2 separate regions of the Homo sapiens genome follow, and region 1 is linked to region 2. The links are contacts of gene promoters, found by promoter capture Hi-C in blood cells and fetal thymus (Javierre and others, 2016). All regions are on one chromosome and are shown on one strand. The core of a region is centred on a gene start or on the middle of the fragment in contact, and the rest is flanking DNA. Distances in the headings are between cores, read along the strand shown.

The links. Contacts are between HindIII fragments. The CHiCAGO score rates a contact against its expected background, and 5 or more counts as called.
Region 1: a contact is called between a fragment that was not itself captured here and the fragment with the promoter of RALGAPA2 in region 2, in 2 of 17 cell types (naive CD4 T cells and naive CD8 T cells). The highest score is 8.4, in naive CD4 T cells.

What each region holds. Positions count from the first base shown.
Region 1 is chr20:16,727,167-16,731,538 of GRCh38, forward strand. It overlaps SNRPB2 (small nuclear ribonucleoprotein polypeptide B2), which reads left to right and starts at 2,860. Exons shown (of 7, transcript NM_003092.5): 1 at 2,860-2,998. RefSeq lists enhancers at 1,971-2,839, 2,898-2,947, 2,998-3,117 and a silencer at 3,268-3,317. The HindIII fragment of the contact is 864 bases long and covers 1,733-2,596 here.
Region 2 is chr20:20,710,585-20,714,958 of GRCh38, forward strand. It overlaps RALGAPA2 (Ral GTPase activating protein catalytic subunit alpha 2), which reads right to left and starts at 2,060. Exons shown (of 40, transcript NM_020343.4): 1 at 1,791-2,060. The coding sequence starts at 1,896. RefSeq lists a silencer at 1,951-2,210 and enhancers at 2,202-2,496, 2,321-2,520. The HindIII fragment of the contact is 11,955 bases long and covers 1-3,982 here.

The DNA of each region.
Region 1 (4,372 bases), core at 915-3,414, 4.0 Mb before region 2:
CTTTTTAGGAAGTTTCAGTCAACATTATCCCAACCTCCCTGGAAAACATAAACCTGATTTGGTGCTCAACAATAACGCCTAGATTTGTTTAATGCTTGTTGTGAAAATAATTTCACTCTAGATACATTTCTTAATGTAATCACCACCTGGGGAGAGAAAGAAGATACAAACGAATTGCCATACATTTTGTGACTCTATGTAACATAAATAAGACAAAATTTATCCACCAGTTTTATGGTGCATTTTCCTTTATACATGGCTCCTTCTTAAAACTACTGCAGCAAGATACCAAAAACAATTAATGAGAAACATAAAACACGTGCAGATAAGGTAGGGAAATGTATGTGTATTCAGAGTCACTAAGAGACACCTCAGTTATCTTCCTTATAATTTAGACATCTTGGCACAGTTTTATTCCCTACTGTTTGTAGTAATTTTTCTGCTACTCCCAAAATAAGCAAGTTTTATCATCTGCAAATACATGACACTTGGATAGGGTGGTTATAACGCTGCCTCCTTGTTTCTCTCGATTAAAAAAAGCCTGTTTCACAGGAAAATAAATCACGATACCTAACCCAAATGTGAAAGAACAGACTGAGCAGAACTAACAAAACTCATTTGCTCTTCTAGTTTTTAAAAATGTGAGTTTTGGACATCTGATTCCTGATCTCACCCTCAAGAAGTGGATCTGGTTATAAAGTGATGATGTTTTACAGTACATGTGACCATAGTTTAGCTGCTATAATATTCTTAATATAGTTACATAGCCAGGCTATGCAAGGTTTCTCACAAAACCAGAAAAGCTATTCGATCCTTATCATTCCCTTCCTGTACTGTTCTCAATAACTGGCTTCTCAAATCGTTCAGGAAACCACTGAGAATCATTAACGGGTTATTGGAATGCCCAGAGTGACTGCCCAAGGACAGGAAAATGCACTGGCTCTTTTTAGAAGAACCTGGAAAAGTGCATGCAGACCATTGCGGCTGAGTTGGCAATGGATGATTTCCTTCTCACAGTGTAATGTACAATAGCTGTAATTTAATTGTTAATAGAACACAACATGCAGTCTGTCTTCAGGCCTCTGTGTTTCTTGTGGTATTTTCTTCCCAGGTTGGAGTGTTTTTGTATAATCACATCTTATTCTCTTTTAACAGTTATCAACTCTTGGCTAGATCCCCTTATACAATACAGAGTATAGTTTATTCTCAGTAGTGTAGCCATCCTCATTATTATCAAACAGAACTAATTGCTGAGATGCTCATAGTAATATGCAAAACAGCTTGTCCTTTGTTATTTAGAAATTGTTTATATTAAGTTTATATTCTCTTTTAATTTGTTAAAGATATAATTCTTTGACTGAGATAGGACATTTCTTCTCATTGGTTTATTTATTTTAGAGATGAGATCTCACTATGTTGCCCAGGATGATTTTGAACTCCTGGACTCAACCAGTCCTCCTGTCTCAGCCTCCCCAAATGCTAGGATTACAGGTGTGAGCTACTACACTCAGCCATTTCTTCTAGTTTTAGATCTATATAATAAAACGATGCTTTTCTGTGATCCCTTAACATTCTCTACACTCAGGTGCATGTTCAAAGCATATTTGTTTTACTGTTGCCTAGTTTTCCATGTCATTCATTGAATTATCCAATGCATATTAATTATCAGTCACTTTTCCCATTACTAAGGGTACTTGAGTGAACAGAGCAGACAAAAACCCCACCCTTAAAAAGCTTATATTATTTTCAAGTTGTTGCAACTTTGGGTGTTTTTAAAAAATAAAAATTCCCAGCTGATAAAACCAACTTATTTGACAGCTACCTGCCTCACCAGTAGAACCAAGTTATAGCCAGAATTCAGAAATAACATTTTTGAGCATTTATTGTGTCTGACAATGTGCCAATCACTTTACATTTATTTTAGCTCATTTAATGCTTACAACAACTAGAAGGAGGTACTATTAGGATCCCTATTTTACAGATGAAAAAAGTGAAGGTCAGAGAGATTAGTTAAGCAGAGGGTACAAGATTAGGTTCCAGTTGACTCTTAACAACCATTTCATATTCCAGGTGATGCTTTACAGACATCTGATGAATGGATGGATGAATGAATGCATGCACTTTGGGAACTCCCATTCAGCTTGGCATAAATACTAACTCCTTAGAATACCCTAGAAAAATCTAGACCTTTTGTTGGAAGAAAAGAGTGGGAAGGGTGGTAGGGAATTATTTTTTCGAGTGAATTGAGGCAGATGATCTTACAGATGACTGGGTTCTAGTCAGCATGGTTGCCTTATCTGGTGAGAGATGAGAATTGGGCAGACACCAGTTCTGTCTGCCCTGGGCCCTCAAACTGAGTAGCCTCTGAGATTCAAGTTCATCAGCACAGTGTTGGAGGACAGTTCCTGCAGAGCCCCATGAATCAGAGGAGACTCGGAGGCAGGAGGAACTGGCTATCCTAAAGGTGATTTTAAACCGGGGTAGCTAGAGCCCAAAGAAGGGCGAAACCAGGACTAACTGCCCCATAGCATGAGGGGCAGCGCCTGTAAAATTACATAGGATTTGTAAAGGTGGAAGGCACTGTTGCGCCGGGTAAAGCTTCGCAAGGTCGTGGTAGGGGAAATGATTCACTCCCCTTCACTATTCCCTCGCAGCATGGTCCTCACAACCCCCTTCTCTTTCCCCATTTCCATTTCCGGACTCTTCTCCTGCCCGCAGGGCAGACGCACGCGCAGAGAGATTGCCAGCCCTGGCTGCCAGAGACCCGGAAGCATCGATCGGCTCTGTGCTCGGCTTCTAGACTTGTCGGCGCTCGATTGAGGAGCGTGGCTACGTTGCTTCCGGTGCCTGGCTCCGTTTCCTGCTTTTGGTTCTTACAGTAGTCGGCGTAGGCCTTAGGTGGGTTCGTGCGCCTTCTACCTCGCTGTTTCGGTTTTCCTGGCTCCTCGGCCCTTTTCTCCCCTGTTGCAGCTGGGAGCGGACGAAGCGCGAAGCTGGGGTGGGTACGCGTTTGGCCCGGGTTTGGATCTCGGAGGGGCAGGCTTGGGGGTGAGGAGACTGACTCTGGGGCCGGGCATCGCGTGGCAGCTCCCTTGGACTTCGTTAGGGGGCCTTGGGCGAAGGTGCTTGTGTCTGGAGAGGCGGGAGGCTTGCGCGTACGAAGTAAAGGATAGTTAATGTCAGTCTGCTCGTGCGAGGCGTGGACAGTTCACTGCGCTTTCAGGTGTCTTCCAGCGGCTCCCTTTTGGTGGTGGCGGGTAATTCAGGGTGTCCCTGTAACAACGCAGCCCACGATCAAACCTCGCATGAAACCCTGCAAGAGCCTCCCCTTTGTCCCCCTACCTTCACTTTGACCTCTGCCTCAGTCACTTCCCTTTCGTCGTCTCCTTTGCGACCCCTGCCCCTTCTCCAGATTTCGATTTAGGGGGTCGCAAGGCTTTGAGAAGCGTTACGTTTTACCTGTTACCTGCACAAGTGCAGCCCCTGCTTGTAGGCTCTTCCCTTGTCAATCATCCAATGCAGTTCACATACAGTGGATGCTCTGTAAATACTGTGAGATAAAGGAATATGTGGGGCACACAAGGAAATCATCCAAGTTCACAATTTGCAAGTAAAAACCATGTAAAAAATGCAATAGTGTGGTATATGAGGAAGACAAGTGTAGAGGAGAAAGCAAGGGCTGAATTTCCAGGCCTGATGCTTATTAGCTGTGTGACCTTAGGCAAGTTCCTTACCTGGTAATAGCTGTTAATAATAGCTACTCTTAAGTGTTTACCGCTGATGCAGAACTGTGCTAGAATTCATTTAGTCTTCTGAGTTCTATTGGGTAGGTTCTGTTACCATTCTTATTTTACTGATGAGGACCTGAGAGGTTAAGGAACTTCCCTCAGGCAAACAGCTAGTAAGAAGCATAAATAGGATTTGAATTCACATCTGGCTGATACTGGAATCTGAGTTTAATCGTCATGCCACACTGCTGTCATTGAGCTCCTTTCTTTCAAGTCGGTTAGAGATAACCTTGGAGTCCAGACAGCTTGGTGATGCTGTATACAAATTAATAGGTATGGAAGGACTTTGTAAGTGCACCCATTAAGTAGTTGGCAAACTTCATTAATGTCTAACCTTATGATTTTTACTGGATGTACATTTGCTACTTTGGTCATTTTTCTTCAAATCTACATTTTAAAATTATTTCATTGAGGAGGTGGAAAGAAAATGTCACGTGTCATAAGTGAAACGTAAGTGTAAAAATAAATGTGTTGAATTAAATGGTGTTACTAAAATCTGGCTAGGTATTGGTGCTCCAAGTTTTGAATGTGAGAAACTGTTCTTCTTCTGTATGAAAAGGAGGGCTAGTAGGTGCTGGAGATAC
Region 2 (4,374 bases), core at 810-3,309:
CCTCTCCATGTTACAAAACTGAGGTCATGATGAGTTCAGTGAAATGATAAAAGAAAGTTCCCTAAAATAAGACCTACACCTTAGAGTGAAACTACAATTTTACAAACTTGAAAAGAATCAACTTTCTCAGAATGGGAACAATGTACTGTGTGCTAAGAAATAACCTGATCTAGGTTTACTTGATTCTGCCTTTATAAAATGTAGCCAACTTAATCTTGCAGACCTGGACAGAACAAAAATTTAAACGCTAAAGCACAGAAAAAGGCTCAAAGTATCAAACGCTTTAAAACACAGCTCAACTCTCCTTTATCAAAAATGTCCCTGCAGTAGGTGTTAATCAGTCACTACCAGGAACTCCACACAATGCAACCTGTGTATTGTGCAACCTGTGCGTGCATGGTATCTACAGGAAGTAGAAAATTCAGTTTACCAAGAACGCCACACTTCACTCTCCACACTTCACTCTCAAAAGTCTTGAAAACGAATCCCTGTAACAGCAACTAATTTACATTTCATTTCAAACTGAACAAGTCAGTGTAACCTCAAGGTATGTGAGATTGTGAATAACTTCACTTGGCAAAATCAGGTGTGGTTTGGTTTGGCTTGGGTTCTTCTCCCCCTCAGAGGTAGAATATAAATAGAAATAATCAGCAACTTCTGATCTCATGAACAAGATCTTTATTTAAAATCTTCACACGTTAAATCATTTTATGCAATATTCTTTCAAGTGACAGACACATTAGCACTAGGCGATTTTTGTGAATTTTGGGACTAAAAGACACCTGGAAGAAACATAAGGTGTTCTTTCCTTCGCCACCAAATACACAGGTAAGTGTGTCTATAGATAGCAAAGGTGTTTTCATCCCAAAGAAAAGTTAAGACTTAGGATGTAAAAAAATACAGAAAACAAAACATAGCCTAGGCGAACCAGCTACAGATCACATGCAGCAGGTGACAGGAAGCCTTGTGGACACCTCACACCCACAGGGGCGAGCTTCATCACAGGTCAACTCCAAGCCCACCTGAGCTCCTCAGAACCTCCACCTGGCAGGCCATAAACCAGAAGGTGGCAGACAGCATCACTGTCATGCCGGTAATAAAGGAGAAGCAGCCTCCCTGAACCCAAGAAAACCACCCCTCTCTCCAAGCAGGAAGAGAAGGCCCCTTCACACCAAGGACACAAAGAAACTGAAGCAGCCAGACCCAAAATAAAAATTAAATTTAAAAAGCAGCATGGGAAGACAGATGACAAATCTGTGCTGGGATCGCCTGGAATCTCGGTCTATATGGGGGTCTCACACTCAAAAGTAAAAATAAAATTTAAAAGGGGGATGACAGAGATGAGAGCCCAATTAGGTCTGTGCTGGGTTCACTTGGGGTCTCGGTCTACTTAGGGTCTCAGACTCAAAAATAAAATTTTAAAAATGAAAGGGGGAGGTGACAGTTCAATGTGTGCACGTGATGACCACTTGGGATCCAGTTCACTTGCTGGGAGGACAGGGGACAGGTACCTCTGTGCCCGGCCTCCAGGTTCTCCGGGAGCGCAGGCGCCCAGCGAGAATCTGGGCTAAGTTTAACTCGAGGGCGACGGGAGCAGTGCCCGAGGGCCAGGCTGCGGCTTTCTGGAAACAAAGCCCCGGGGGTCCAAGCCCAGATCCAGGGAAGGGGGTCGGACGCCCACCCATCCCCCTCCCCAGCCTCCCAGCCACCGACCCCTGCACAGAGGAGCGCCCTCCCGGCAGGTGCCCCTAACCCGGCGCCCCGACCCCCGCGCCCGGCGCGCGCCTCACCCAGCAGCGCCCGCAGGTGCTTCAGGCGGGTCAGCACGTCCTTCTTCGGGTCCAGCACCTTCTGGGTGGACTTCTTCACATCCCCGTGGCTCCTTCGGGAGAACATCCCGCGGCAGGAAGCCCGGGCCCCGCCGGCGGGGCAGTAGGCGCCTGCGCCACGCGAATCAAAGCATAGGGTCGAGGCCGGCGCGTGTCGCGCGGGCCACTCGCCGCCCCCAGCCCCGCTGCTGCCGCCGCCGCCGCCGCCGCCGCCGCCTCAGCTGTGTCTCCAGGAAGGAGGGGCGGGCCGGTCACGGCGAGGGGCGGGGCAGGAAGGCGGTGTCGACGGGGAACCGAAGGCCCCGCCCCGCGGGAGGTGCCGGCCGGCCCCTTGGGCGCTACGCACGCGCACACAGGCCGAACTCTCCTGGCGGGACACTAGCCCGTCCGCGCCAAAACCTAGCGGGGACGCGCTCAGAGGGCCGAGAAGGCGCCTCGAATCACAAAGGAGCTTCTCTCACGCACACGTTGTACTACAAGTCCCGAGATGCACCGCGAGACAGTCCTCCAATCAGGCTGGCGGTCTTCGGCACGATGGGAGTCAGTGGGCCGGCATTGGGCACGTCGCCCCGCCCTGCCGCGGGCCGCAAGTGCTCCTGGGAAATGAAGTTCTCCAGCAGGCGACGCGCTGCGACCTCTTTTCCAGGGTCGCAGAAGCGCAGGGCGGCCTCTGTCCGTCCCCTGCCCCGGCAGCCTAGATCGCCCGTGGTTTCACTCTCCCTCCTGCGCGCCCACCCCATTTTCCTCTAGTGCAACGTGAACCACACACGCCCAAAAATCTCAGTAAGAAAAGTGTCAAGGCTTTTCAAATGCAAACTATTTTTAGGTTTAGCTTCTGGATTCACACAAGGGAGCGAGTCGAAGCCCCTCTGACCGTGCCGAAATCGCAGCTCTAATTTCACACTAAAATGAGTTGCTTTGGCACTAGGGAAGAGCGTGCCCCGGTGAGGAGTTCAGCCGGCCCCTAGGTTCCTGGAACCCAACCTCACTTGGGGTATGGAGGTCGCTCGCTCAGAGGGCTCCTTGGGATCTTGCCTCTTTGTAGGAAGGGTGCGTTCTCTGTTGTGCAAGCCACATGGCGATCCAGTAGCAGAACCAGAAATAGAACCTGAGGGATCTGACTCAGGCCTGTATACTTTTTAAAGCCAGGCGCTTATTCCCTGGGGCAAGACTTTGAGCTGAAAGATGGTCAGGAGATTTCTTACACTGTAGGATTGTATAGTGGCATCCGAATCCTGCAAGTTTTGACATCCTTTCAGCTTTTTCAGCAAGTACTTAAGGTAGAATCACGTGGTTTCCATCCAAATTGGGACAACACAACTGTCTTTTTCTCCTCTAGCTGAACTGTAACTTGAGGGAAGAGACAAGGATTTACACGCCTTTGTATCCCCATCCCTCAGCACAGTATTTGGCCCATAGGGTCACTCAATAAAAGTTTATTAAATGAAATACAATAAAAAGCTAAAGTAGTCCTACATATTTCAACCAGGCAGGCGAAAAGGAAAAAATAAATAAATAAACTCACAGTTTTAGAGCGTCTCTCTATTTTTAGATTTGTGTAATATTCCTTTGTATAGACACATTCATACAAAGGAATATTACTCAGCAATAAAAAAGAACAGACTACTGATAAACCCAATAACATGGATCACTCTCAGACCCGGAGATGAAAGCCCCATGCTCAAGATGATGGCAGAGCGGCCCTACCAGCCTGAGTCCCCAGATGATAACAGATCAGGACCACAAACTTCTAAAAGTGTAACAAGAGAGCAAAATAATGTCTTATCTTAAGTCAAGGCATTTTGAGAGTCTTCGTTACAGCAATTGAGCTTGTACCTGATTACACATAGTAAACCACAATGTTCACTGTCCAATTCCTTTAGGAGAAGATACTTTTCCTTACACTGATTGAAAAAATAGAATATACTTGTCTTAGGAAACTCCATTTTTTTAATTGCAAAGCAAGCTGCCATCATCATCAAACATTTATTGAGCACCTGCAATGTGTAAGGCATGATTCTAAACCCTGGAGATAAAAGATGTATAAGGTGCATCCTCCTGACCTCCAATGCTTCCAATCCAGTTAAGGAGGCTGAGCGATTAGATACATGTGGGAATAAATGACAGTGTACAGTGAACATGTGATACTATCAAGCTTGGTAATGCCAGAAACAGGCATCTGTGCATATAAATTCATCGCACCCATCATATCTAGCCTTTACCCAGTAATGAAAATGTAGAACTCCAATTCTTCTCTTAAAAAGGAAGAAACATATAGTATTATTATGTTGGTACTTTTTCACCCACTTGCATATTCCATATGGCTCTTCTTATTTTCTGTTGTTCTTTCTAAACTCGTTCCTGCTGGGCTGTGAACTCTTTGAGGGCTTCACTTGCTTTGCACTGAATTCTTTATCCCTGGAGTTATAGAGTGCCGAGTGTTATGCAGACATTAAGTGTTGTTGAATAAATGTCCTACAGTAATCAGCAAATAAGAATAATGAGATCAAAAGTTTAAAACTTGCAATGCAAATTAAAACTACTC